Regions from separate parts of the Homo sapiens genome. Here regions 2, 3, 4, 5 and 6 are each linked to region 1. The links are contacts of gene promoters, found by promoter capture Hi-C in blood cells and fetal thymus (Javierre and others, 2016). All regions are on one chromosome and are shown on one strand. The core of a region is centred on a gene start or on the middle of the fragment in contact, and the rest is flanking DNA. Distances in the headings are between cores, read along the strand shown.

The links. Contacts are between HindIII fragments. The CHiCAGO score rates a contact against its expected background, and 5 or more counts as called.
Region 2: a contact is called between a fragment that was not itself captured here and the fragment with the promoter of ICA1 in region 1, in 2 of 17 cell types (naive B cells and total B cells). The highest score is 9.2, in naive B cells.
Region 3: a fragment that was not itself captured here is called in contact with the fragment with the promoter of ICA1 in region 1 in 3 of 17 cell types (total B cells, non-activated CD4 T cells and naive CD8 T cells); the score reaches 6.1 in total B cells.
Region 4: a fragment that was not itself captured here is called in contact with the fragment with the promoter of ICA1 in region 1 in 1 of 17 cell types (naive B cells); the score reaches 6.3 in naive B cells.
Region 5: a fragment that was not itself captured here is called in contact with the fragment with the promoter of ICA1 in region 1 in 3 of 17 cell types (total B cells, total CD4 T cells and activated CD4 T cells); the score reaches 6.3 in total B cells.
Region 6: a fragment that was not itself captured here is called in contact with the fragment with the promoter of ICA1 in region 1 in 3 of 17 cell types (naive B cells, neutrophils and total B cells); the score reaches 8.8 in naive B cells.

Annotation. Positions count from the first base shown.
Region 1 is chr7:8,260,145-8,264,875 of GRCh38, forward strand. It overlaps ICA1 (islet cell autoantigen 1), which reads right to left and starts at 2,023. Exons shown (of 14, transcript NM_001136020.3): 1 at 1,950-2,023. It overlaps ICA1-AS1 (ICA1 antisense RNA 1), which reads left to right and starts at 2,081. Exons shown (of 6, transcript NR_125740.1): 1 at 2,081-2,275; 2 at 2,436-2,682; 3 at 4,447-4,536. The HindIII fragment of the contact is 9,065 bases long and covers 1-4,731 here.
Region 2 is chr7:7,001,970-7,006,700 of GRCh38, forward strand. All of the region lies in intron 1 of LOC105375138 (a long non-coding RNA gene), which reads left to right. It overlaps LOC124901585 (a long non-coding RNA gene), which reads right to left and starts at 1,219. Exons shown (of 2, transcript XR_007060204.1): 1 at 1,142-1,219. RefSeq lists an enhancer at 154-792. The HindIII fragment of the contact is 165 bases long and covers 2,137-2,301 here.
Region 3 is chr7:7,031,259-7,035,989 of GRCh38, forward strand. All of the region lies in intron 1 of LOC105375138 (a long non-coding RNA gene), which reads left to right. Among named protein-coding and RNA genes, the nearest start is that of MIR3683, 33 kb to the right of the region's middle. The HindIII fragment of the contact is 1,849 bases long and covers 1,238-3,086 here.
Region 4 is chr7:7,049,652-7,054,382 of GRCh38, forward strand. The region is part of intron 1 of LOC105375138 (a long non-coding RNA gene); the gene reads left to right. Among named protein-coding and RNA genes, the nearest start is that of MIR3683, 15 kb to the right of the region's middle. The HindIII fragment of the contact is 2,592 bases long and covers 1,929-4,520 here.
Region 5 is chr7:7,076,626-7,081,356 of GRCh38, forward strand. The region is part of intron 1 of LOC105375138 (a long non-coding RNA gene); the gene reads left to right. It also overlaps the pseudogene LOC100131257. Among named protein-coding and RNA genes, the nearest start is that of MIR3683, 12 kb to the left of the region's middle. The HindIII fragment of the contact is 165 bases long and covers 2,545-2,709 here.
Region 6 is chr7:7,094,506-7,099,236 of GRCh38, forward strand. LOC105375138 (a long non-coding RNA gene) reads left to right here. Exons shown (of 5, transcript XR_927009.3): 2 at 453-626; 3 at 3,485-3,613. It also overlaps the pseudogene LOC100131257. Among named protein-coding and RNA genes, the nearest start is that of MIR3683, 30 kb to the left of the region's middle. The HindIII fragment of the contact is 5,178 bases long and covers 294-4,731 here.

The DNA.
Region 1 (4,731 bases), core at 773-3,272:
TTCATACCAAACATAGGTTTATCCTTCTACGTTATGGCATAACTACCAGACCTCCATACCGCTAATGCTGCTTGCACCTGAAAAAAATGTACTATTTAGTCAAATACCTTGAAAACGTACTGATTTTGAAGGCTCTGAGTAACAAAATTTTCTATACTTTTCGTGAGATTGATCTTTATGCACTGCGGTAAAGATGCGTAGAGAAAGCAGTCAGATAGTTACTCAGGTGTTCCAAATGGGGGAAAATAGTTACAAAATAAACCACCCAGGCAATTACCATCCAGTATCTTTAGCACTCAATGATCCACGGGTGGAGGATACAGGGTTAACGTTTTTTAACATCAGGTCTCTCCACAAATAGCCCGCTGTAGCTTAACTGTTACGTTTTCTAAAGATTCATCTTTATAAACAGTACAATTATTTCCCTTTGTAATACAAACAGAAACAATTAGAAAGCAACATCTCCTGCAATTAAGATGTATGTACAGTATTAGTATAAAACCAAAGAGTGATATTTGAGCTATTCAGGATTATAAATTGATTTTGTCCCTGTGGTATTCTCTACAAAGGGTGTTTCAAAAATAAAGACTGAAATCTAAAAATATATCTTTGGTTTGAAAACTTACTTAAAAGCATTTTTAGAGAGTGTGTGTTTTAAACAGGGGGTATGAAATTGCATCGGGAGCCTAGATTTCAAACTAAGCATTTCTTATTTCACTCCCTAACCACAGAACAGTTCAGATCTCAGATTCAAACCAGAGGGCCACAGAAACCAATTTGAGATTTTCCGAAGAGACTTCACTGAAACGTATGGACAAAAACATGTTTGCGATGAGTCATATTTTATAGGACCTTAATGGCCAATAAATGCCTTATGTGTCTTTCTTCCTACATTCAGTATCACTCCCAAGCAAGCTGGTGACATATTTTCCAGGCCTTGATAATTTTTATACCGTTACCAGATCTCGGTTACTAAGATTCATGAACAAAACCCTTTCTTGCGCTAATTTTTTAATGCCATCTAAATGAAGAGAACGCGATTCTTTCCAAACTAACTCTCCCCAACCAGGCAGTTAATGCCCTTCGCCAGAATAAGGGCGCGATACTTTTAAGACCCCAAAGAGAAGCTCAGGTGCTTTGGGGGTACTACAAGTAAAAAGACAGTGGGAAAGGTTCCTGGAGAGCCGCTTTGGGGGAAAGGCAGACATAACAACAGGATATGTTCGTTTCTAGAGGAAGCAGGAGCTGCAATAGCCCCGGAGCAGGAAAGGCGGAGTCAGCAGCGCCCAAAGGAAACGGGCGCGCCAGGGTTTGCTGGAACCGGGGTTGCTTAGGGGTTCTCGCCCCGTCTAGTCCGAGACTGCTGAGCACCTCGCCCCCGGGGGACCAAGCTCAGGCCTCCTGGCACTAGTGGTTATAAAGAGGTACCCATATGCTCTCTGCCGCCCCTGCCAAAAAAAGGGCCACGGAGGGGAAGAGAAAAAGCACACACCAGGCGCCGCGGCAGGTGAACTTGTCAACAAGTCAACCCTGGACGCAAGTCCCTGCCCACCAGGGAGCTCGGGGTCCTGGGGCCGGAGCCGCCGGGAAGGCGAGGCGCGCGGTGGGTGGGTGGGGTGGGCTGGCATGGGTGCCGGTGCTCCCAGCGCTGGGGCCGGAGCGCGGAACGCTTCCCTACCGCTCCCCCGGGGCTGACGCACGCTCTCACGGCGCGCGCATCCTCCAGACCTTCCCAGGCCGGAGGGAGGAGGGGAGGGGAAGGGGCTGATGCGGTTCCCGCACCGGGATCCGGGACCCGAGGAGGCGACTCGCCTATCACGCGCCGCCCGCGGAGGGCAGAGAAGGCAGCTCCTACCAGGCGTCCCCGACCGTCCCGGCTGCCGGGCGTCTCCTGCTGCTTCCTGCAGCCCGCCCGGCGCGCCCCCGCCCCGACCCCGGAGGGCAGGTACCTCGGAGCCCCGGCCCCCAGGAGCCTCCCGGCCGCGGTCGGAGCGTCCCTCCGGATCACTCATCCGACGTCAGCGTCAGCCGAAGGCGAGGGAAAGGGGCGGGGGGAGCGCAGGAACCGGCCCTTCCTGCGGCGGCCGCCACCAGCCGGAATAGCAACCGGCGGAGCCCGTGCGCACCGCAGCGCAGCGCAGCGGCCGGGGGGTGCGGGCGCCCTCGCCGCCCGGCTACCTACCGCCGCCTGGGCGCCGCCGCTGCCTCCCTTCCCCGCTTCTACCCTCCAGCAGACGCCCGCCGGAGCGACCCCTCCCAGGGTGACCGGGGGAAGGTGGGTGGCGTTGACCTCACCTTGCTTGGGGAGGGTCGGGGACTCGGGGAGTGAGTTTCTCTCTCTCTACTCCCCGGGGTCTCTCCTCGACCCCCATCTCCTGGGGTATCCCCCGCTCGGATCCGCCGCCCAGAGTGACCCCGCCCCTGCTCTCCGGCAGGTGTTCCACGTGGCCATAGCGTTTGCGTCACAATGACCTGGCGGACAGGTGGGAGCCACAGCGTACACCCCAGGGTTCCCTCTGTGCTGTGCGTAGTGCCTACTGCTTGCTTCCAGGTTAAATTTCTGTAGCTTTAGAGGACAGGAGACTTCATGACTTCACTGCCAAGAAAAGTTACAGAGGCCTGCTGTACCTGGAAATCAAGTTTGAGCTTCGAGAATAAAGGTCATGTTTTAAAAACAGCTGTGTATGTATAGGTATATGTTTTTCATTTCCATATATTTCTGTATCTTTTATTTTTAAGTTATTGCCATTTGTAGCAGTTTCATCTTCTCTTATCCTTTGTCACCAGGAAAGAACCAAACCATTGTTTCTAGAGACCCTGCAGTATACAGATCACAGGAAGAAAAAGTGTTGGCATAGCTGCTTCCTAATATTATCTATGTGGAAATGAAACCTCAATGTAGTATGACTTCATCCCTAGTTATGTTATACATTTATAAATAAGTTCATTCAGTCGTCGCTGAAACAATTTAAAAGGGCCGAATGATAGTTATTGAGTAATGATGCTGACGAATCAGAAATCCTGCGCTAACATGGATGGAGTGCTAGCTCTATGTCCGGCACATGCTGTATGCTTTATATTTAATCCTTACAGCAACCCAATACTGTAGATAAAATCATTATCCCGATTTCACAGATGAAGACACTGCCCAGAGTGCCATAAAGAGATTATTGAGCAGGGATTTGAATCTGAACCAGGAGACTTAGCTTAATCTCAAGATAGCATGGTGTCTTGCCAGAATGGATGGAGAAAAAGTATAGAATATGTTGACATTTTAATAGAAAGATAATAAGATACCTCCAGAAATTTACATAACCTTTAAAGTTATTCTTTGGGGATTCTGTTTGTCATAGATTTGAGCCTGTCCTAGTCTTAACACGAATTTTGGAGCTGAGTAAACATCTCCTTAGTAAGTGTGTATGAGTAAACAAATCATGAATATGGTCTACAAAATAGCAAATTGTTGAAAAGCTAAGATTCAGGAGAAATTTTCAGAGAGAAAAGCATTGCTTATATATATTTGGCTTTTATAAAAAAAAATTCAAACTAACGTGTTAACAACGCAAGCCAAATGATTTTGCTGTAAGAAAAAAAACCCAAAGCCTTTAAAATGAGAAAGTCTTCCTTACAAAAGAAAGATGATTAAGATATGTTAAGATACATTGATTCCAAGAACTGTAAATTTATGTGTAAAAAGCTATTATCGGGAGTTAAAAGGATAAAGAGATTATTATTCTTTAACAGAATGAAGTGCCGTAATGAACATCATAGGTGCCCGATAAATGTTGACTGAGCGTTATCATCAGTTAATTGAAGCATTGAGAAAGGACTAAATCACCTGAAAAGTTTTTCCTGACTCTGTAATGTTCTCCTTTCTACCAGTTACATGAAAACTTAATCAGAAGCCCCATTGGTCAAAGGCTGGCTTTGGGGCAAATATTTAAATCTGTTACAAAACAGCCAGTAGAATGGGAGGTTGTGTGTGTGTTCAAAGTATCCCCTCAAAATGCAGATGATTGGAACAAAAGCATGAAGGGAAAAAACGGGGACAGCTGAGCTGCAACTGATTACGCAGTTTTCTTTTATGCTTTCTGAATTCCAAGGTGAAAACGATGACTGTGAGTCTAACCTGTTACAGAGGCTAAAAGTGGCTTCAAAAGCAATGTCTAAAAGAGAACAAATACATGATACAAGCATTATGTAGTCAACATGGCACTGAAATTCTTTGGGCTCCCGGAGAGTTTAGGAGAAAACCTTAACTGATTTTTCTTCATTCTAATTATTGTCCTAACACTTAGCATAATATTTGAGAAAGGAAATAATAGACAACTCCTGCTCATTCTCCATCACCACAATGAGTACTTTTCCTTCCCCTTAAATAAAATGGCTCCATCAATAACACTTGCATTTGTTTCTGAATAACCAGCTGTTGTTTCCATCTTGCAGAACACCAGTAAGGTGCTAGTGAGAACCCGAAACAGTTTCTAAGGAGAATGGCTATTGAATGATGGGATCAGAAATTAGGAGAGAAATAAGGTGCGTTTTCCAGTGTACAACAGGATGACAAAATTTTCTATGAAAAAAATCTTTACATATTCAATTCAATAATTTTTTCAAGAGCTTCCCAGATTCAAGATATGCTAATAGGACCACAAGAGTTGGATTTGTGTTAAGCTACTAACAGAGACTTGGAATAGCGGTGGATTAAATGAAATAGGGCTTTATTTTTTC
Region 2 (4,731 bases), core at 969-3,468, 1.3 Mb before region 1:
TCAGAGAGGGGGATGTGGCAGGGTCATAGGATAATAGTGGAGAGAAGGACAGCAGGTAAACACGTGAACAAAGGTCTCAGCATCATAAACAAGGTAAAGAATTAAGTGCTGTGCTTCAGAGATACATACACATAAACATCTCAATGCCTTAAAGAGCAGTATTGCTGTCCACAGGTCCCATCTCCAGCCCTAAGGTGGTTTTCACCTATCTCAGTAGATGGAATATACAATCGGGTTTTACACCGAGACATTCCATTGCCCAGGGACGGGAAGGAGACAGATGCCTTCCTCTTGTCTCAACTGCAAAGAGGCGTTCCTTCCTCTTACTAATCCTCCTCAGCACAGACCCTTTACGGGTGTCGGGCTGGGGGACAGTCAGGTCTTTCTCTTCCCACGAGGCCATATTTCAGACTATCACATGGGGAGAAACCTTGGACAATACCTGGCTTTCCTAGGCAGAGGTCCCTGTGGCCTTCCGCAGTGTTTTGTGTCCCTGGGTACTTGAGATTAGGGAGTGGTGATGACTCTTAACAGGCATGCTGCCTTCAAGCATTTGTTTAACAAAGAACATCCTGCATAACCCTAAATCCATTTAACCCTGAGTTGTTGACACAGCACATGTCTCAGGGAACACAGGTTTGGGGGTAGGGTTACAGATTAAAATGGAGTCTCTTATGTCTACTTTGTATACAGACACATTAACAATCTGATCTCTCTTTCTTTTTCCCACATCCAAGGTCAGGAGGAATGGAAGCAAGCTTCCTGCATGGGAAGAAGAAAAAAAGGCTTCTGGCAGAAGCCTCCACTAGCAAGCCTATCCCACCTTCCTCCGCCTGCTTTGTTCTAGCTGCTCTGGCAGCTGATTGACTGGTGCCCACCCACCTTGAGGGTGGGTCTTCCTTCCCAGTCCACCAACTCAAATGTCAGTCTCCTCTGGCAACACCCTCACAAACACACTCAGGAACAATACTCTAGGCAGCTGTCAATCCAATCAAGTTGACACCTAATTTTAACCAACATACAAGATTTATAAGCTAAGTATGTCAATGATGATAAATAAGTGTTGTGGAGAAAAGCAGAGCAGAGAGGAGAAAAGGAATGCAGAGAAGGGTTTACAAGTTTTAGAAGAATTCATACTTACAGGCCCCTGTTTTCCATAAAAAACAGGAGGCTCATCTTCTGCAGGTACTGAAGGGCTTGGGATGTTGTGAGGGTGAACTTGAAAATAACAGACAAATATCAGAGTTAATGAGGGGAAAAAGAAAAGATGAGTGGGCATCATGGTGGTCCAGCAAAGGAGGAAAACCCAAGCATGAATGTGGACTGGCACCATCAGAGAGGGCAGAGCCTCCAATAACATGGGGCAGTCTGAGAGCCAGAGTCAAGACGTGGGGGAAATGGATCCAGGTTCTGTGTTTGGCACAGTGTGTGTGGAAGAAGGATAAGAGGGCTCGGGAGGACAGGTACAGTGAGTGTGCCTCCACAGGGATGCTCTTTTGGTATGTTCTATTATTGCTGAAAAATATGCAGTGCCCCTCCCTGGGGGAGGATTATGCTATATCTAGCCCATTGATATCAGTGTAGCCAGGTGACTTGCTATTGCCAGTGAAATGTGAGTAGAAGTGACAGGTGTTACTTGTGAGCAGAAATTTTAAGAACCACGATGTAGCTCAACACCAACTTTTTTTCCTCTGCCAGTATTCCAGGTAGGAGCGACTCCCCCAACCAAGGGCCCAGAATGAAAATTATGTAGAGAAGGGTCACAGCCTACCCATGATCAATATGTAGCTGGAGTGAGCAAACAAACTTTTCTGGTTGTAAGTGTCTGAGACTTGGGAGTCATTTTGTAACTGCAGCATAACCCAATCTAAACTGGCTAATTCAAGCTTGAATATTTTAAGTTGAAAGGGAAATTAGTAAAGCCATAAGTGACCTAATTTGTTGAGAGCAGTAACAGGAGCTGATGATTAGAGGCTTGGTTGCAGGCTATGGGAGAGAAGTATGGGAATGAAAGAGACAGATGAACTGGACATTTTCATGGGTAAGGAATGTATAATTTTACAGTGTTAAATAAAATGATGAATGTAAGATTATCTAGCTTAGGTCCCTGAACACAATGTGTGTTAAATAAACAAAAGCTTTCTTCAAACAGAATTCCCCTAAGCATTTCCAGGTTGTTCCCTGTCCAGACATAGATACACCCTGTGCAGTCATAGATACTGTTGAAAGATTCGGAAATAGGAATCAGGAGCCCTGGAGTAACAGGCCCCCAGAAAATCAGAGTGGAATTGTTAGTCCAGAAGCTTGACAAACATCCACCTTCATTGTCTTCCAACTGTATCTCTGACTTCCCTCTCCCTAGTTCATTACATCCCAGTCATATTGATATCGTTGCTGTTCTTGAACACATTAAGGAGAGGCGAATAGGGTTTTTAGCTGCTGAAAGTTAGACTCGTGGCTAGAGACCAGACTAAGTCCTTTTCCTTCATGTGGAGGTTATGATTAGGATTGTCAGAGAGAGTTAGGGTTTAATTTTTTCATTAAACTAATAATATGTTTTGAGTATCTATTGCATTATGGGGCATGGAGCTTATTACATTCATGGTGCAGAGGAAGAGGGGGAGTTAACAAGGCACATAAATTACATATATAAATGAAGGTAAGTGCTATAGAGAAAAATAGAGTAGAGAAGAAAATGCCATAATGGGGCCCGGGCATTGCATTATGTAATATCATCCTATATAGTCTGCTATAGTCCAAATAGTCTGCTATCATTTGGTTTTCTCATTGGATAAAATGTTGTGAACATCTCTCTGGGATGAAACAAAAACATTCTGTATTGCTGTAGTGAAAGGTCCTCAGAAGGGAATCATTTTGTCATTCCTGAGGCTTGTTAGATATGACCAACCCATCCACCGCATCTCAGTCATAACTACTCTAAACAACACCCACCAAAGGGGGAAAGGGCTTGCTGGAATCCAGCCATCAGTACATCCTTGCAGCAGCTGAAGACTCATTTCACTTTTACCCTAACTTGGCCATCATGACAGCACCCAGCCCAATATTCCAAAGCTAGGTATTTAACACCATAATGGGGACCACTGTTTCCTAGGAGGTACTGAAGGGTTTCAGAGGCTGCAGATACAAATGATGCTTACTGCTATATCTGCAGTGCAGAAAGCTGAGAGCAAAAGTGATGAGATATCAAGGCTGCCTCTGTGGTCTGGATGCTTTCTTTAAGAAACTGGCACCAAGTGTAGGCTATATGCAGACTGTCCAGATCAATTGTGGCAGACCTTGAAATAACAATCATAGCTACTGTTTATTGAGAGCATTTTGGGTCACCTTTTCAAAGTGATTTATTTTTGTCCAATGTTAAGTAACCGGCTTAGAAGCTGAACTCACAGGGTATGGCAGGGTCAGCCCCACCCTCAGAAAATCCTTCAGACCAAGCATGTCTCAGCCATCAGGCCCCAGCATAGACAGAAAAACACATCTCCCCACGGCATCTGGCTGTGATCTAGAACATCTGGTGACAGGACAAAGGTGAGGAAGACTGACAGGAAATTATCAGAGCAAGCAAATAACAGTCTGAAATTCGGGTTTCTCTGTGAGGCTACCTCTGTCCATTTCTATCTCTGAGCATAGTATGTAAAGGAGTTGGTGTAGTAGTCGAATGGTGGCCCCCCAAAATATATACACATGTCCCAGAACCTGTGAATGTGACTTTACCTGGAAAAAAGCATTTTTGCAGATGTAATTAAGTGGAGGACTTCAGGATGAGACCACCCTGGATTATCCAGGTGGGCCTTAAATCCAAGGACAAGCGTTCTTTTTTTTTTTTTATTATTATACTTTACAGTTTAGGGTACATGTGCACGACATGCAGGTTAGTAACATATGTATACAAGTGCCATGTTGGTGTGCTGCACCCACTAACTCGTCATTTAACATTAGGTATATCTCCGAATGCTATCCCTCCCCTCTCCCCCCACCCCACAACAGGCCCCGGTGTGTAATGTTCCCCTTCCTGTGTCCATGTGTTCTCATTGTTCAATTCCCACCTGTGAGTGAGAACAGGCAGTGTTTGGTTTTTTGTCCTTGCAATAGTTTGCTGAGAATGATGGTTTCCAGCTTCATCCATGTCCCTACAAAAAAGGACATGAACTCATCATTTTTTATGGCTGCATAGTATTCCATGGTGTATATATGCCACATTTTCTTAATCCAGTCCATCATTGTTGGACATTTAGGTTGGTTCCAAGTCTTTGCTATTGTGAATAGTGCCACAATAAACATGTGTGCGTGTGTCTTTATAGCAGCATGATTTATAATCCTTTGGGTCTATACCCAGTAATGGGATGGCTGGGTCAAATGGTATTTCTAGTTCTAGATCCCTGAGGGATCGCCACACTGACTTCCACAATGGTTGAACTAGTTTAGAGTCCCACCAACAGTGTAAAAGTGTTCCTATTTCTCCACATCCTCTCCAGCACCTGTTGTTTCCTGACTTTTTAATGATTGCCATTCTAACTGGTGTGAGATGGTATCTCATTGTGGTTTTGATTTGCATTTCTCTGATGGCCAGTGACGATGAGCATTTTTTCATGTGTCTTTTGGCTGCATAAATGTCTTCTTTTGAGAAGTGTTTGTTCATATCCTTTGCCCAATTTTTGATGGGGTTGTTTGTTTTTTTCTTGTAAATTTGTTTGAGTTCATTGTAGATTCTGG
Region 3 (4,731 bases), core at 912-3,411, 1.2 Mb before region 1:
GTTCTTTGAGCTTCTTGTATTTGGATGTCTAGATCTTTTGCAAGGCCAGGGACATTTTTCTCAATTATTCCCTCAAATATGTTTTCCAAACTTTTAGATTTCTCTTCTACCTCAGGAATACCAATTATTCTTAGATTTGGCCATTTAACATAATTCCAAGTTTCTTGGAGGCCTTCTTCATTTTTACCAAATTCCTTCTTCTTTGTTTTTGTCTGATTGAATTAATTTGAAAAGCCTTGTATTTGAGCTCTGAAGTTCTTTCTTCTACTTGTTTGATTCTATTGTTGAAACTTTCCACTGCATTTTGTATTTCTCTAAGTCTGTCTTTCATTACTAGAAGTTGTTATTTAAAAAATATATATATACACATATATATACTTATACACATATATACATACATATATATATAGACACATACATATATATATATATAATACGTGGAGCATTTTTCATCCATATCCTGTTTTTTTTAATTTAAGTTAGTCTCCACCTTTCTCTGTTATCTCCTTGAGTAGCTTAATAATCAACCTTCTGAATTCTTTGGCAATTTAGAGCTTTCTTCTTGGTTTGGATCCATTGCTAAGGAACTAGTGTGGTCTTTTAGGGATGTTACAGAACCTTGTTTTGTCATATTGCCAGACTAACTTTTCTGATTCCTTCTCATTTGGGTAGACTATTTCTGCACAAAAGTCTGGAACTCAAGGGCTACTGTTCAGATTCTTTTGTCTCATGAAGTGGTCCCTTGGTGTGGTGTGTTCCCCCTTTCCCTAGGGATGGGGCTTCCTGTTAGCCAGACTGCAGTGATTCTTATTGCTCTTCTTGGTCTAGCCACCCATTTGGGCTACTGAGCTCTGGGCTGGTGCTAGATAATGTCTCCAAACAATCCTGTGATGTGATCCATCTTCAGGTCTCCCATTCATGGATACCAGCACCTGCTCTGGTGGAGGTGGCAGGGGAGTGAAGCAGACTCTGTGACAGTCCTCGGTTGTAGATATTTTTAGTGTGCTGGCTTCTTAAATACTTGTTACGCTAGCAGTGAAGTTGTTACATGGACACACTCAGGACACACTCTGGTTAGCCAGGATGTTGCGGGCAGTGGAATTAGCTGTTGCCTTGTTCTTCCTGGGATCAGGCTTATTTTGTCATGAGTTGCTATAAGGATCTGAGTTGGTTGGCCTCCAGCCAGGAGGTGGTGCTTTCAAGAGGGCACCAGCTATGATAGTAGAAGGTGGATATAAGCTTGCCCTAAGTTGACCAGGGTAACTATTTGGGTTTCTCAGGCAATGGGAAGGGTCATAAAGCTCCCAAGAGTTTATATTTTGTGATACGCTACCAGGACAGGTAGAGAAATACCATCAGGTGGGAGCAGGGTTAGGTGGGTCTGAGCTCAGACACTTGAGTGGGGCTTGTTGTGACCACTGTGGGGGATAGGGGGTAGTTCTTGGGCCAATAGGCTTATGTTCCAGAGGAAATTATGGCTGCATCCGTGGCTAGGGAAGTGGTGGAAAGGCATTAGTGATAGGCCTTACCCAGTTCCCACGTGTTGGTGAGACTGGTATCTTTTCCACTGTACCCTGCTAACAGCGCTAAGTTTGTCTCCAGGCAGCCTGTCCACAGGACTCAGACCTTACCCCAGACTATAAGTTTCCCCACTGAGAAAGCAAGCAAGGCTTTCAGGCCATGCCCCTTCCTGTCTGTCCACACTGTCTGCCTCAACTCCTGCTCTACTCTTTGAGGCAATTCCTGTTCACCCCCAGATTCTGCTCAAGAAAGTTTGCACCCAGTCAAAATTATTACATAGTTCAGTTGGAAGCTCCTTTCATGCTGTGACCCCTCCCGAATTTTGCCAGCTGCCTTCACCAAGGTTCCCTGTGAGATATAGTCAGGGATGGCTTCTCTGGGCTCAAGCTGGAGAACGAGAGTGCCTACAAGGCTCTTCCCCTGCTGCTTCTATTTTTATATTTTATGCTAAATCCGTTTAATCTCTAGGTAAGGTTAAGTCCTTTCCTCATGATTTGAATTTTCAGGCTCTCCAGTGGCAACATGTATTCAGAGGCAGGTTTTCCCCGCTCACGCTTTGGGAATGCACGGTTTTTTGCCTGTCTCATGGAATATACAGCATACTGCCACTTCTTTCAAAGGATCTGTGAATTCTTTCAGTTTTTCTGTTATGGTGCTGCTATTGTTCCTGAACCAAAAGTCCATGGTGTGAGTCTTTATACACTGTTGTGTCTGTCCAAGTGGGTGCTGCACATCAGCCCTGTCCCATATCCATCTTCCATTTATCTCCTGGCTTTGTTCTTTTTATTCAAGATGACTTTGGCTACTCGGGGCCTTTTGTGCTTCCATACTAATTTTAAGATTTTTTTTTTCTATTTCTGTGAATAATATCATCAGAATTTTGGCAGACATTGAATTGAATCTGTACACTGCTTTGGGTAGCATAGACATTTTGATAATATTAATTCTTACAACCTATGAACACAGGATATCTTTCCATTTATTTGTATCTTCTTCAATTTTTTTCATCAGTGTTTTATAGTTTTCAATGTACAGATCTTTTGCCTCCTTGGTTAAATTTATTCTTATGTATGTTTTGGCAGCTATTGTCATTGAAATTGCTTTCTTGATTTCTATTTTGGATAGTTCATTGTTAGTATGCAGAAATGCTACTGACTTTTGTATGTTGATTTTGTCTCCTGCAGTTTTATTGAATTTATTGGTTCTAACAGTTTTTTGATGGTGTCTTTAGGATTCTTCTGTGTATAAAATCATGTCATCTGCAAACAAAGAAAATTTTACTTCTTTCTTTTTGATTTGGATGATTTTATTTCTTTCTCTTGTCTAATTGTTGTGGCTAGGACTTCCAGTACTACATATATTGTTTGTTTGTTTGTTCGTTTGGAGATGGAGGCTTGCTATGTTGCACAGGCTGGACTCAAACTCCTGGGCTCAAGTGATTCTTCCATCTCAGCCTCCCAAGTAGCTGGAACTATAGGGGTACACAAGCATGCCCAGCTTAGTACTATATTGAATGGAAGAGGGGAGATTGGGCAATCTTGTCTTGTTCCTAATCTTAAAGGAAAAGCTTTCAATTTGTCACTGTTGAGTAAGATGTTATCTGTGAACTTGTCATGTATGACCTTTGTTATGTTTAGGTAGTTTCTCTCTCTTCCTACTTTATTGGGTGTTTTTATCACAAAAGAGTGTTGAATTTTATCACATGCTTTTTTTTAATCTATTGAGATGATCACATGGTTTTTGTCCTTTATTCTGTGAATGTGGTATATTACATTTATTAATTTATTTATATTTAAAAGTCTGCACCCTAGGGACAAATTCCACTTAATCATGGTGAATGAGCCTTTTAATGTCCTGATGAATTTGGTTTGCTAGTATTTTCCTGAGAATTCCTGCATCTATGTTCATCAAGGATATTGGCTTGTATTTTATTTTCTTGTTGTTTTCTGACCTGACTTTAGTATTAACATACTGGCTTCATAACATGAGTTTGAAAGTGTTCCCTCCGCTTCAATGTTTTGGAAAAATTTGAGAAGGATTGACATTAGTTCCTTAAGTATTTGGTAGAATTCACCAGTGAAGCCATCAGGTCCTAGGCTTTTCTTTTTATTGCTGATTCAATCTTTTTCCTCCTTATTGGTCTGTTCAAATTTTCTATTTTTTCATGACTCAGTCTTGGTGGCTGTTTATTTATTTATTCTAGGTTCTTTGATTTGTTGGTATATAATTGTTCATGGCAGTCTCTTATGACACTATATTTTTGTGGCACCTGATGTAATTTGTCTTTCATTTCTGATTTTATTTATTTCATTCTTTTCCCTTTTTTTCTTACTCTAGTTAAAATATTGTTGATTTTGTTTATCTTTTCAGAAAACTCACTCTTATTTGCATTGATCTTTTCTATTGCTTTTCTGGTCTCTATTTCATTTATTTCTACCCTCATCTCTGTTACTTCCTTCCTTCTACTAACTTTGGCCTTAGTTTGCTTTTCTTTTTTCTAATTCCTTGAGGTGTAACAGAAAGCTGTTTATCTGAAATCTTTTTTTCTTTTTTGATATAGGTGTTTATTGGTATAAACTCCTGTCTTGGAACTGCTTTTGCTTCTTTCTATAAGTTTTGGTATGCTGTTGTCCATTTTCATTTTTCTCAAGATTTTTTTTAAATTTCTCTTTCAATTTCTTCTTTGATGCATTCATTGTTAAGTAGCATGTTGTTTAATTTTCATATACTTGTGGAACTCAGAATCTTTGGACAGGCTGACTGGTGAAGGGCTTTCCCTGCCAAAGCCAGTTTATAAAGACTGAAAGAGGTGCCTACTTCTTCAATTGTGCAAATACCAATGCAAGGCCACAGGATTATAGATAATTGGGGAAAGATAACACTACCAAGGGAACAACAACAACAAGAAATGGAGATCTATAAACTGTCTAAAGAAGAATGCAAAATAATCATTTTTAAGAAGCTCTAGGGAGTTCCACAGACTTGGTCAAGCTGGTCTGGTGTTTGGTCAGTGGGTAGATGATCCTAGTACCCTGATCCATCAAGTTAATTTTGGGATCTAGGTCTGTAAGTGCAAGGCTGGATCTTGAGTTTACAAGGGTTTTCTGGTGCTGGGGTCCACTTATGTGGGTCTGGAAACTAGAGCCACAGGGGTATTTCAGAAGCCTGGGTCCATGGGGGCTAACCTGATGTTGGGGGGAACTCCTGATC
Region 4 (4,731 bases), core at 1,975-4,474, 1.2 Mb before region 1:
ATTTATTACTAAGGAATTATTACTACTTTTTCCTGACTTTAACCTCTTCCCATATTAGATCCTATCATCAAAGCCAAATACTTCTTAAGATTCTACCACATAAAAAATAGAAATGATCTTGAAAACATTTAGTATTTCAACAAATAACAAAAAACCTTAGTATTTTATAGATAAATACATTTTAGCCATAACTATTATTAAGGCTTTGTCTCTTACAAAGGAGAAAGGTAAAGGCTTATAATTTCCCTATTAAGTCAGCACATAAAATGCAATTTTAACTTAAAATTCTGTTAAAAGTATATTTATTGTCATAGTTTCCAGCCCTGATTGGTCCTAAGAATCACCTGTAGAGCATCTTAAACATAAAGAGCTGTTTGGGGCCATTACAAATGTAGTACTAAGAACATCTTATATAGTACCTATCTTTTGGGGCACATATGTATGCATCTCTGTGAAGTGTATATCTGAGAATAGAATTGCTAAATCAGGATATGCATGTGATGAGCTTTCATAGATATCACCAAAGAGTTTTCCAAAATGGTTGTACAAATTAACACTCACACCAATGCAATATGAGAATCCCCATTGTTCCATATTCAATACCATTGCTTGGTATTTTATATCTTTTTAATTTTAACCACTCCAGTGGATATTTTAATTTTTATTTCCTGAGCCATAAATGAAGTTGAGCATATATTTATTGAGTATTTGCATATTTTCTCTGAGGTGTGCCAAGTATTTTTAAAATTGAGCTGTGTTTTACTGGTTAATACATAGGATTCCTGTCTATATATTCATTCCCTCTCACTGGGGTACAGGTCTTTTATTTTTTATATGTGTATTGAGAATATTTTTCTTCACATATCCCTCTCTTTAATGGTGACTTTTGTTAAATTTTGTTGTTCCTTAACTTTAATATGCTCCAATTTATCAATTGTTAACTACCTAGGTGCCCATCAACAGTGAAATGGATAAATAAATTGTGGTTTATTCAATCAATGAAATACTATAAAGCAATGAAAATGAACAAATCACAACTACCTGCAACAAATATAAGTGAATCTCATATAACATTGAGGGAAGGAAGCTAGCACAGGAGTAGATATTATTTTAATTTTTTTTTTTTTTAGTTTCAAAAACAAACAAAACTAACCCATGATGTTAGAAGTTAGGATGTTGACAACTTTCACTGGGCTGCAGTAGCTAGAAAGGGGCCCTAGTGGCTCTCTTGAGCTGCTGGTGAGAATCTGTTTCTGAATCTGGAAAGCTAGTCACTCAGTTTTGTTCAGTTTGTGAAAATCTATCTAGCTTCACATTTATAATATATGTTTATTTCAATAAAAATTTAACCAAAATAGAGGTACATATATCTGAGCCTCAACACCTGGACATCCATATTTCTTAGTGATTCAAATGGGCAGCCAGGGCAAGGACCTTCGATCAATATTCTGATCACAAATATGTGTGCAAATATAAGGACTGGAAGCCCCATTTTTTGAAAAATGTCTGTGGTTTATGGGAAACATTAAAATGGTGGGATTCTAGAGTTTCTTTTTTCTCTAACATTGTAATTTGTATTCTTACAATGTTGTTTTGTGCAATTGTGAAAATCCTGTGAATTACACTTCTCTGTGCTCTCATTTGTCAGTGTTGTCCATTTCTAGGAAGAAACATTTGCTTGCATGTCTAGAAGTGTGGCAAGAGGGAGGAGGGACAGAAGCTATGAGGAAGTGAGAAAATAAGTGCTGGCTTTCCTCCATCTTGTGCTACTCTGATTAGTCCCAGCTCACAGCCAAACATCCTCCTCTGACCAGATGTGGGGGCACAGTGGTGATGTACACTCGCCAGGAGGGCAGAGTCCAATGTTTATGGGGTTCTGCAAATTACTGGAGCAGAGTGTGGTCCCGAAGAACAGGAGAGACAGAGGAAGCTTCCAGCTACAGCTTTCTCCTCCACTTTTTCTCTGCCCTCTCATGCCCTGCTTGTCTGGCAATTTGAATGCAGACTAGACATTTCATCATTTGTTACAAGGACTTATGAAAAGGGATACGGACTCCGATGTTGTTGGGCAGATTCTAGTTTAGGCTAGAAGCTGGGGAGTAGGGGAGGAGATATAAGGGAGGAGGATGAGGTGTTAATGTTGTGTGTACTTTTGAGCCAGGAAAGAAATGTGATTCTGGGTGGTGAAGGTCTTGGCCAAATGGATCTGTTTTTCAGAGAGACAAAGAGCCCCTGTGATATTGTGAAGTATATATTTGGTATCCGTCCCCTTTCCTGGCATACAACTTTTAAAATACTTTGAATCTCCAAAGTGCTTTTTTTTTTTTCATATGCAATTGTTGACTGATAGATTGAGGATGGGACTGGCCACTAAAAAGACAAAGGCATGATCACAGGGTTGGGACTTTCAGCCCCACCCCCCAACCTTCCGGGGAGGGGAGAGAGGCTGAAGGTCAAGTTGATCACCAATGGCCAATAGTTTAATCAATCATGCCTATGTAATAAAGCCTCCATAAAAACCCAAAAGGGCAGAGTTCAGAGAGCTGAACACATGCAGGCTGACAGGAAGGTGAACCAGAATTTATTCATGTGCCAGGAAGATGGAACACCCCAACTCCACAAGGCAGAAACTCCTGTGCTTGGGACCCTTGCAGACCTCACCCTAGGTACCTCTTCTCTAGCTGCTTATTTGTATCTTTTAAAATAGGCCAGGTGTTGTGGCTCCCACCTATAATCCCAGTAACGCTTTGGAAGGCCGAGGTGGGAGGGTCATATGAGCCCAAGAGTTCGAGACCAGCCCAGCCAACATAGTAAGACTCCGTCTCTATGAAAAATAAAAGAAATTATCCAGGCATGGTGGCATGAGCCTGTAGTCTTACCTATTTGGGAGGCTGAGGCAGGAGGATCACTGGAGCCCAAGAGTTTAAGGTTACAATGAGCTATGATCATACTGCTACACTCCATCCTGGGCACATGCGCAAGACCCTGTCTTAAAAAAAAAAAAAAAGAGGAAAATCCTTTAAAATAAACCAATAAAAGGCTGGGCGCAGTGGCTCACGCCTGTAATCCCAGCACTTTGGGAGGCCGAGGCGGGTTGATCATGAGGTCAGGAGATCGAGGCCATCCTGGCTAACACGGTGAAACCCCGTCTCTACTAAAAATAGAAAAAATTAGCCAGGTGTGGTGGCGGGCACCTGTAGTCCCAGCTACTCGGGAGGCTGAGGCAGGAGAATAGCGTGAACCTGGGAGGTGGAGCTTGCAGTGAGCCGAGATCGCGCCACTGCACTCCAGCCTGGGTGACAGAGCAAGACTCCATCTCAAAATAAATAAATAAACCAATAAACAAAAGTAAGTGTTTCCTGAGTCTGGTGAGCCAATCTAGCAAATTAATTAAACCCAAAGAGGGGATTGTGAGAACCCCAACTTGAAGCCGGTCAGTCAGAAGTTCTAGAGGCCTGAACTTGCAACTGGTGCCTGAGACGGTGGAGCAATGTTGAGGACTGAGCCCTTTGCCTGTGGAATCTGACATGATCTCCAGGTAGATAGTGTTGGAACTGAACTGAAGGACACCCAGCTGGTGTCTGCTGCAGAATTGATTGCTTGTTTGCTAGGGGGGAGAAATATCCACATATTTTGGGGTCACAGAAGTCTTTTGTGTTGATGATTATTGATGTGTGGTATGAGAGCAGAGGAAAAAACACAGTTTGAGTTTTTCCCAACAGTTCCCATCCCCAGCTGCTTGATGGTTGCGAGTTTTTTGCCACTATAAATCAGGGGACTTCTGTAATCATTTACGCCTCGTTTAGGGAAAAAAATCAAATTATTGCATTGTTTGCTTCTGTATCTTATTTCCTCCTCCCTTAAACCGTTAGTTGTTTTCAAATACAAAATCCTATGTAGCCCAAAATTAGCATTTCTACACCATAAATTGATTGTATTGAATTAGCGAATAATGAGGCAAATTGGAAGAACCAGAACAACTGAAGGCAAACCTCCCAAAGCCTTACTTTTTATCGCAGACAAAGCAAATCCCTCCTTTCTTTTCTTCTGCTGTGCTTGTCACTTCTGTAGAGCTGCTATTCCAGCTGGCCTGCCCTGTTCTTGGTGATATTAGAGATCTGTAACTCACCCTAGACCACAGGTTCTCAGAGTGTGGTCCCCAGAGCAGAAGCATCATCTGGAAACTTTCAGACATGCACATTTTAAGGCCGCAGCCCAGACCTCCTGAATCAGAAACTCTGGGAATGGGGCCCAGTGCCCTGGGATTTAACAAGTGTTCTAGGTGATCCTAATGCAGTCTACAGTGGTTCTCAAACTCTATGAGTTCCTTTAGGTAGAGAGCACATCTGAGGTACCTCCTGCAGGACTTGGAAACCAATTGAATGTGGGAAGGTAGAGAGGAAGTAAAAGATAAAGATGTTTCAACAAACCAAGTAAGGAATACAAAGAAAAGAGGTGTTTTGGTTTTGTTATTGTTTACTTGTTTGTGGTATTTACACAGAAAGAAGTAGGTGATAAAAAGCTTTTTTATGCCTATTTTCAAAAGCCCGTTCTACATACATGTGTTGTCCGCTCAAAACATCCATCTGCTACGGACAGCAGCGACCATAGCTGAGGAGCCACATGGGTTTGGCTGTAAATCGAAGCTCTGCCATGTTTAATTCTTCGAGCCTGGGCAAAGCCTTGCACATTCCTGAGCTTTAGCTTCCTCATCTGACAATTGGAATAGTC
Region 5 (4,731 bases), core at 1,377-3,876, 1.2 Mb before region 1:
TCACCATGTTGGCCAGAATGGTCTCCACCTCCTGACCTCGTGATCCACCCGCCTCAACCTCCCAAAGTGCTGGGATAACAGATGTGAGCCACCGCACCCAGCCTGTGTATGTTCTTTGTGTTTACCGTACCAAAAGCAGACCTGAGCATTTTGCTGGCCTTAGAGGTCTATAAAAGAACTCTAAGCTTAGGCATGCAGAACAGGCACTGGATGTATGTAGTGAGCTTACCAGGAGTCTTGTTGGCTCCCTGATGTCCTTATCATCTCTCTTTGCAGGCTGTGGATGCACACAAGGCAACTAAAATCTTGGGCATCGTTTGAAAATGTTTGGCTGCCTGCTACAAACTCAGAAGAGAGAACACTTACTTATATTCATACTTGTATTGGACTGGATATATTTTAAATCCAATTCTTTTTTAAAAAAGATGCCTCACTTTAGGAAATAAGACATCAGACCAGCAACATCAACTAGGTATGGAATACTTGCTGGTGAGACACTTAAAACTAGGAATCTTCTAAATCTTCTAAAGGTGCTTAAGAGCATGGAGAAATCAATAAACAGGCATCCAAGTGTTGTGGCTGTAAAGCAATAACATAGGGTCCCTAGTAAAGAGTAGGCCTAAGAGTTGGTTTTGGAGAGAACTTGGGCCAAGAACAGCAGAAAAAGCTAAATGAGCTACTTATGTTGATGTGTTTTAATACTGGTGCATTCGCAGTATCTTATGGAAGTTGTGAACACTAAGAACCAATTTCAAGAAAAATAAAAATGTTTATAGGGCATATTAAAATAAAAACAGCTTAAATTAGTTCTGTAAATAAAATAGGCCTAGCACAGTGACTGATGCCTGTAACTCCAGCACTTTGGGAGGACAAGGTGAGAAGATCACTTGAGGCCAGGAGTTCGAGACCAGCCTGGGCAACAAAGTGAGACCCCATCTCTGTTCTTTTTAATATCAAAATTATTATAATAAAAAAGTAAAAATAAATGTACCTACTTAGAACACATATTAAATAAAGGAATGCCATGAGAAAATGGCACTGCATTTACCAAGTCACCACTAGATTCTTGTGCAATGATAAAGTTTGAGACTATGTATTAACAATTTCATAAATAAATAATCAACAATTTTCTTTCCACTATTTTGATGTTGGGTAAAGCCTGACATGTGCTGTCAAGTTTTCCATTTGCATTACATCAAATTCTTGTCTACTATGGATATTCTGATATAAAAAAGACTAGTTAAACTCCTATTGAAAGATTTGCCATTCACTACACTCACATAACTTCTCTTAGATATAGATTCTTTGATGTTGAATGAGCGTTGGGTTGTGACTGAATCTCCTCGTGCACATACACATTTATTACATTCATAATCTTTTTGCATGGCATGAATTTGATACTAAACAAGGTAGTTTCTTTGACTGATGGCTTTTTCACATTCATTGCAGTAATGGAATTTTATTCCCATACGAATTCTCCAAATGTGACTAAGGTATGAAATTATTAATAGCATGAAAATTGAATTATCTGATGCTGAGTAACGGTTGAGCTATGACTGAAGGCTTTACCACATGCAGTACGTACATGATTTCTCCCTGGTGTGAACTCCCGGATGTTGAATGAAGCCTGAATTTGACTAGACTAAATGTCTTCTCACCCTCGTTATATTCATGAGTTCTCTTTGGTATGAATGCTCCGATATTGAACCAGGTGTGCTCTCTGACTGGAGTTCTTTTTCCGTACATCACAATCAAAGACTTTCTGTCTGGTGAGGACATCTTGTTGCAGGATAAGGTCTGAGCTATGACTGAAACTGCCCTCATACTCGTTACATTTATATGATTTCTCTTTCCTATACATTATTTGATGGTGAATAAGGCATGAGGTTTGACTGAAAGCTTTTCCATATTCATTACACTCATGCAGTTTCATTCCTGTGTGAATTTTTTGATGCTGAATAAGATGTGAATTCAATCTGAAGTCTTTTCTACATTCATTACATGTATAGGGCTTTTCTCTGAAATGAATTCCTTGTTTAATATAGGCCAACCCATATTCATCATATTCATAGGATTTCTCTTCATGGTGGACCCTCTGATGTTCAAGCAGATATGAAGGATGGCAGAAGTCACTGCCAGATATAGTACACTTACAGGGCATCTCTTTGTGAATTTTCTGATGTTGAGTAAGGTGGACACTATGACTGAAGATTCTTTCACAACTGCTACATGTGTAAGCTTTGGCTCTGGTGTGAATTTTCTTGTGTTGAATTATGCCTGAGCTTGGACTACAGGATTTATCAGATGCTTCACATTTGTAAGGTTTTTCTCTAGTGTGTATTCTTTTATGTCGACTAAGACTCGAGCTCTGACTGAAACGCTTTTCACATTCTTTACATTTGTAGGGCTTCTCTCTAGTATGGATTCTCTGATGTCTAGTAAGGGCTGAGCTCTGATGGAAAACTTTCTCACATACATCACATTTATAGGATTCCTCAGTGTTAGGGATGCTGTCCCATTTATTAAGGAGGGAGAGATCCATTAAGCTTTCCTTACATATACTACTCTGAAAATCCTGTGTTAGATTTATGTGTTCATGTTTACCAGAGGCTGAATTCTGGCTGAAGCTCATGTCGTTCTTATCATTATCATCAGTGTTCTGTATTCTAAGAACTTTCTGATCTGCATCAATAGTAGAGTCCAGACTGAAGCTTTTTTCAGGTTTATTACATTCATTGTTCTTCTCACTGGTGAAGGCTTCTTTGCTGATTGTTATTTGCCTAAACTCTCCAGGTACAGGAATTTCCTTAGAATTTCCTGAAGCCTTTCTAATCTGTCCTCAGACTTATACACTTCTCTAGTCTCAGGAACTTAGGTAATATTGTGTTTGAGTCTTCCTACTATCACTTTGCATGAATGTACTTCTTCTGAAATTTTCTCCTTAGGAATCAACAGCTTGTTCTCTGGTCTCTCCATCTGATACAATATATAAATAGAAGATACAAATGTAATCTGTACCCTGTGCTTAGGAAAAGAAAACTCAGATGAGAAAACTGAACAATGTAATATCTACAAGGACAAGAAAAGTTTATTTATGCTGAAAAACAGGCTCAAAATCTCAACAGCAGAAGTAAGGGCATGAACAGGAGCAGTGAGGTAAAACAGCGGACATCTTTAGCAAAGTAAGAAGACACCAGTTAAGGAGATAATAGGGAAAGAGTTTGAAAGAATTTTAGATAAGCAACTTGATTAGCGGTCCAGTACAACATGTGCACAGGTCCTAAACAAATGGAAAGGGTCAACCTAACTGAAGGAAAAAGAAAATAACTCTCCATGCTGGGACACACACAGAACTCTTCATTCTGAGTGCCAAAGCAGCTACAACTTGGCTCAACAATTGAACTTTACTTCCCTACTAATTCCATCTGATTGATTCTGCCTTCCTCACCTGAGAAGTCATCTCTTAAGACTTCTCTAGTCTTAGTTTCCAGATCAAAGACCTGTAGATCCTGTTCCAGCTGGGAGAGCCCATCAGGCTTGGAAATTGGAAATCCTGATCATAGAGAAGGAAATGGGTGTGGCAATGTATCCCCAGATGCTACACCAGCCACTTTTTCTTTTAACTAATGATTAAGACAGAGAGAAGGTAAACTCTGAGAAGACGTTAATTAGGAAGGCCTGGAGAGTGAAGAGGGCAAAGATCTTCTACAAGGAGCTCAAATTTGGGCTCTAGAAAGATGTGTGTTAAGGGGCAAGTTGATGGCTTGGGAGCAGAAGGATTCATTTAAACATTATTCGGACAACAGGATGTGTGCATGGGTTTGTCTTCACAGAAGTTATCCTTATCACTCTCCATCTGTTACCTAAAGATCAATCTTTGGATTAGAGCTGGTCTACAAGCATCAAAATGGAGGTCATCAAAATATAATTCTGCTGGACTGGAGAAAGGTGAAACTCAAGCATCTGCTACATGGTTAGCTAACCTGTAGCAAAAGAATCAGTGAAAACTGAATAAATATTCTAAGAACCAATCTCAAGAAACAATTCGTTTCAGTGCACATAAGAAAACAAAGAATAATATGACACATTCTTACCCATTAGGAGTGTAGCATTTATTCAGTAAACATTTGTGGAGTGCCTCCTTTACGCAAAGTATGCAGGGGATAAAGAGGGCAAGCAAGGTCCCTTCCCTTAAGGACCTCAAGGATCCCACACTCTACACAGAGAGAGCTCTAAACAACTAACTACAATAAAATGTAGATAGAGGAAAGTGCAATCAAAGTGCATCTTCACATAAAACGGTCTTTCTATGGCTTGCATAATGGAATGCTTGGATCTAAATCTCTTTAAAAGCGAAAGCAATAGGCAGTCTGCTTCTGAGGAGACAGAATTTTAATACTATTAGCATCAAAGGGCAGTTTTTATATGTGTCCAGCCCAGAAAGCTTCTAATAGCACACATACAAGGTCTAGCTCAAGCTCCTCATCTCCAAAAACCTTTCTCTCCATTTACTGAATGTCTACAAAATTTATTAGTTGTTCCTCTTACCCTGACATGTCACATATCATGGTGTTTACATAGATTTGTTTTGTTTTTTGTTTTTTTGTGACAGAGTTTCTTCACTCTGCCGTCCAGGTTGGAGTGCAGTGGCATGAGCTCAGCTCACTGCAAACTTTGCCTTCCGGGTTCAAGTGATTCCCCTGCCTCAGCTTCCTGAGTAGCTGGGATTAC
Region 6 (4,731 bases), core at 1,633-4,132, 1.2 Mb before region 1:
ATTGCCACCTACTGATGTGATATAATTTGGGTGTGTGTCTCCTCCAAATCTCATGTTCAAATGTGACCTCCAATGTTGCAGATGAGCCTAGTGAGAGGTGTTTGGGTCACGGGGGCAAATCTTTCATCAATGGCTTGGTGCCATCCCAATGGTAATGAGTGAGCTCTCATTCTGGCAGTTCACACGAGAGCTAGGTTATTTAAAGGAGACTGGGACCTCCTCCTCCCTCTCTTACTACCTCTCTCCTGCCATGTGATATGTCCACTTCCCCTTTGTCTTCCACTATGAATGGAAGCTTCCTGAGGCCCTCCCGAAGCAGATGCTGTTATCATGCTTCTTACACAGAACTATGAGCCAAATAAACCTCTTTTCTTTATAAATTACCCAGCCTCAGGCATTCCTTTATAGCAATGCAAGGTAGACTAACACGTGATGCTCATTTTTTTTTAAAGCCTGCAAACAGTAAGAAGATTCCCCTCTCTTTCTCAGTGGATGTAAAGCAGTGATTCTGCATAAATGTATCAACACTATAGCTCAACTCCTTCTGGAGTGGACTTCCCCTAGACCTGGAGAGCGAGTCCTGCCTAGCATACACGGCCTGAAGTTCGAGATCTCTTCCAATTCAGGTAATATTCCGCTTTCTGTATGCCTGATCTCTACATATATCTGACATTGATTTTTAACTCAAATGAGGAAACAGGAAATTATTAATTACAATCTCCTAAAACTACAACAGGTGTTATAAAACTTCTGAATATAAACAGGCAGACAGCAAAAATGTACACAGGCATAAAATGTAAACTTGAGTGAGAAAAAGGAGCTGAAAAATGAAAGGCTCGCTTTGAAACAAAACAGCACTGAAGAGTCTACAAAGAGAGAGTGACTGGAGAGAGACTGATGTGGGAGAGCAGAATGGGGATCAGATTATAATGAGTATCTCTCCCACACTAAGGAATTTGCAGCTTTTTTTGATAGGCAATAAAGAGTTACATATAACAGCTGTATTTAAATTGTTCCTAGGTGATGGAGCTGCAGGTAATTCTTTTCTTCTTCCTTTTTGTATTTTACTTTTTCTTTTTTTTTTTTTTTTTTTGAGACAGAGTCTCACTCTGTCACCCAGGCTGGAGTGCAGTGGCGTGATCTCAGCTCACTGCAACCTCCACCTCCTGGGTTCAAGCAATTCTCCTGCCTCAGCCTCCTGAGTAGCTGGGATTATAGGCGCACACCACCATGTCCAGCTAATTTTTGTATTTTAGTAGAGACGGGGTTTCACCATTTTGGCCAGGCTGGTCTCGAACTCCTGACCTTGTGATCCACCCACCTTGATCTCCCAAAGTGCTGGGATTACAGGTGTGAGCCACTGCACCTGGCCTTAATTTTTGTTTATTGGAAAAGAAGGAAAATCTATATTTTTAAGGCCACCAGCCACAGCACTTAGAGAAGAAGGAGGACGTATATTGCTTTTGCTGTTTCCTGTTAGCCTGACATTTGCGACTACATTGACTCTGCTGGGGTCACTTTCTCTAATTTGTGGATTTTTTTTTCTTTCTCAACTGCCTGGAGGATATGTATGGGTCCATGACTCGGCCACCACATAAGATTGTGAAGATTATACCTGTCAAGGGTGCCCAGTCAAGGAAGAAGAGTGGCTGAATTCAGCCTGTGCTCTGCCTGAAAGCCCTATGCTCTGTGTGGGCCTTAGTCCACCTAGAGGAAGGGGTACCTTTTAAAAGTACACACAAAGGCACATCATGGGCTGGCCGCAGCCCTGCCTGGCCCCAGGTGAGCTAGCAGTGCCAGATGCCTCCAGAATAGACTGGAAGGCCTTCTGTCCCTCTATTATGTCAAAACTGCAACTGGAACTACTTTGTCCAAGGAAAGGAGAGAGAAACCATAGGAAAAGGCCATAGGAGAATGGTGTCTGGAAAAAAAAACTGCAACGAATATAAGAGATATGAATGAAGCAGATGCAATGAAACAACAGGTTTAATTTCAGGCTTATTTTAGCGAATGGAATAGAATCCCCATTGAGTAAACACGAATACAAAGGGTTTATTGAGAAGATACAGAGGAATTGCACAGAGCCAAAAGCCCAGTCTGGCTTCACAAGACTTGGAAAACTAGAGTGAGGTTCAAGGAGGTTTTCCCCGTTCATTTCTCCAGAGTCACACAGCCTCTCCTCTCCTCACCTCTGTACTGTCTGCTCTACTCTTCAGTCTCTCTCTAAAGACAAGTTTTTCTTACTCGTTAGAAAGCTCACGGCAAAAAATGGCTCCTCGATCTCAACTTTATGGGACCATTCTCTTCATGCATTCACTGTTCTCCGACCACAATGTCTATAGATTTGGATCAAATTTCCAAGAGATGAGAGAGCAAATTCCTATTTTACTCACTTGCAGATTCAAAATTAACACAGATATGATTTGTAAAGAGAGTATTTCTACCAGTCTTGACCAGGACAGTAGATTTCTATATTGAGTTCTACAGATCAGCCCATAGCTGTGTTGAAGTCAGATAAAATATAAAGACTAATCTCTAAATTTAAAACATTTTATTTGGGAAGCAAAGATTGGATTCAGCACATACCCACAGACTGGCTGGCCTTTAGTATGTCCAAAGAAAAAAGAGAAGGTTGGAGGCTTTTATAAAAAGGACAAATGTTACATATTATTTTGAAAGTAATTTCATTGGCACTAGTAAGGTTTTGGATAGCTGGCAAGCTCTGGTTGGTGAACGATGGTGGTGGCTGAAACTAGTTGTAGAGTTACAGCAGGCTGTTTCTGTAGCTATTATATTAAAACTGGTTCACGTTAAAACAGGCAGTTTCGGCAGCCAGGTTTGCAGAGAATTACATTCTTGGAGCAATATGATATGCCCTGAGTGCATTTTCCCCCTGGTTCCTCAACTCTGATTTAGTTGAGTATAACAAGAATGACCCAATTTGTGTGATCAACTTTCACAGCTGGTTCCCAATCATTGAGTCACAAAGTAAGAAATAATCAAGACAAGATATAAGCAATTTTATGAAAATTCCCCCACAATGTGATGAATTTATTGATGATCATCAACAGTGAAATAACCATGCTTAAAACTCCCTGTTCTATATAAATTATTGAACTGACAGACACAGGCATGTGACTTATCAAAGAAAAAAATAAGTATGCTTTTTAGCTAGAATGCCTGGGGAATTAATGAGTTCAAAACTTAGGGAGATGCATTATTCTCTCTTGTTAAACAAAATGAGACCGTATTTATGGGTTAATATTTGGCAAAGGTGTACAACTACCATCAGAGATGGCTTTGAACAGTCATGGAGTCTGAATGCTTTATTTAGCAAAAATTGTACAAGAACCCTATTAGAATACTAAGGCTACAAAATTCAGAGCAGGTAACCTTGATTTATACGTGTAGGAAAAATAAGTCTTTCAAATGTCAGAGTCTGGAGTTTTCTGCAATTAAGTCATAATTTTTGCTATTTTTACAGGTCAACAAGAAAACTCAATTCCTCTTCAGGAAGTTAAGTGACTTAAAGATTACATAAGAGCTAAGAAGACAAGCCAGCTAAGCATGTTCAAGACCGGGCTTTTTGAAACTGCACTAATTGATCATAACGGTGTGAGTTTCAAGCCCCTTCATAGCTTTCCTATAGCTCACTCTGTGCCTCTCCCAAATGACAAAAACAAGGCAAACCCATAGAGTATGAGTTTACATCATATGCAAAAAACACAAGTCCAGAGTATAGAAAATGGAAGAAGAAAAATGAAATCAATGAACTTTAATATCGTTAAAGTTAACACTATATCCATGGAACTTTGATCTGGCATAGTTTTTTGCCACATTTTATTTAAAAGATTTCAATTTATGCATCCTTTTCCACATCTAGGTTATGGATTCTGGCAGATATAAGATTGTCTCTTATTTAATCTCTGTATCCTTAGCAACTAGTGATATACCTAGCACAGAAAAAGCACTCAACACATTTGATGAATGAATGTGATTGTTCTGTTGACAAAAGGATAATAATCTCTTGACTAGAAAAAAAATCATTCTAAAAATCATCACATCAGGGACTAAAAGAATTTGGGAGTTTATTTACTGTTGTTCCTCTTTGTTTAAACACAGCAGGCCCTCCCAAGTATCCTATTGCATCTGGCCCACAAGATCTAGTTGCAGAGATAAATGATTCAAGAAAATTTCCCTGGCTTACTCCCCATTTATACCAGATCCACTACTTTTGCTTCCATCCTCCATTTCTCTGAATTCAGGGCCCAGTACCTCTGACTTTGATCAATGCTTTGGGCTCCTTCAGGTTTGATGACTGATAGAAGTTACCCTCTGGTTCATGAAACCTCTGCCTCCCACATGACTCTTGTCCTAGCTTGCTTCACAATGATTATGATTGTATTAGGCTCCATAAATACCATCATGATAATCAAATCAACACTCTTAGAGGGCTAACTGATAATGGCAATGAATACACCATGAATTCAATGGAGACACCTGTCTGTCATTACTTGTGTAAACGATACTCATTAGTGGTTCTCTGCCTTGGCTGTTCATGGGAAATACCTGGGGAAATCTAGAAATATTGATGCTTACCCCCATAGATTTTAACAGGATTGGCTTGGGGGAGGCCTGGCATTAGAACTTTTTAAAAACTTTCAGCGGATTCTTACATAAAGTTTTCAAATCACTGCTTTAGGCTGAAAACCTAACTGGTGCAATTTTTTC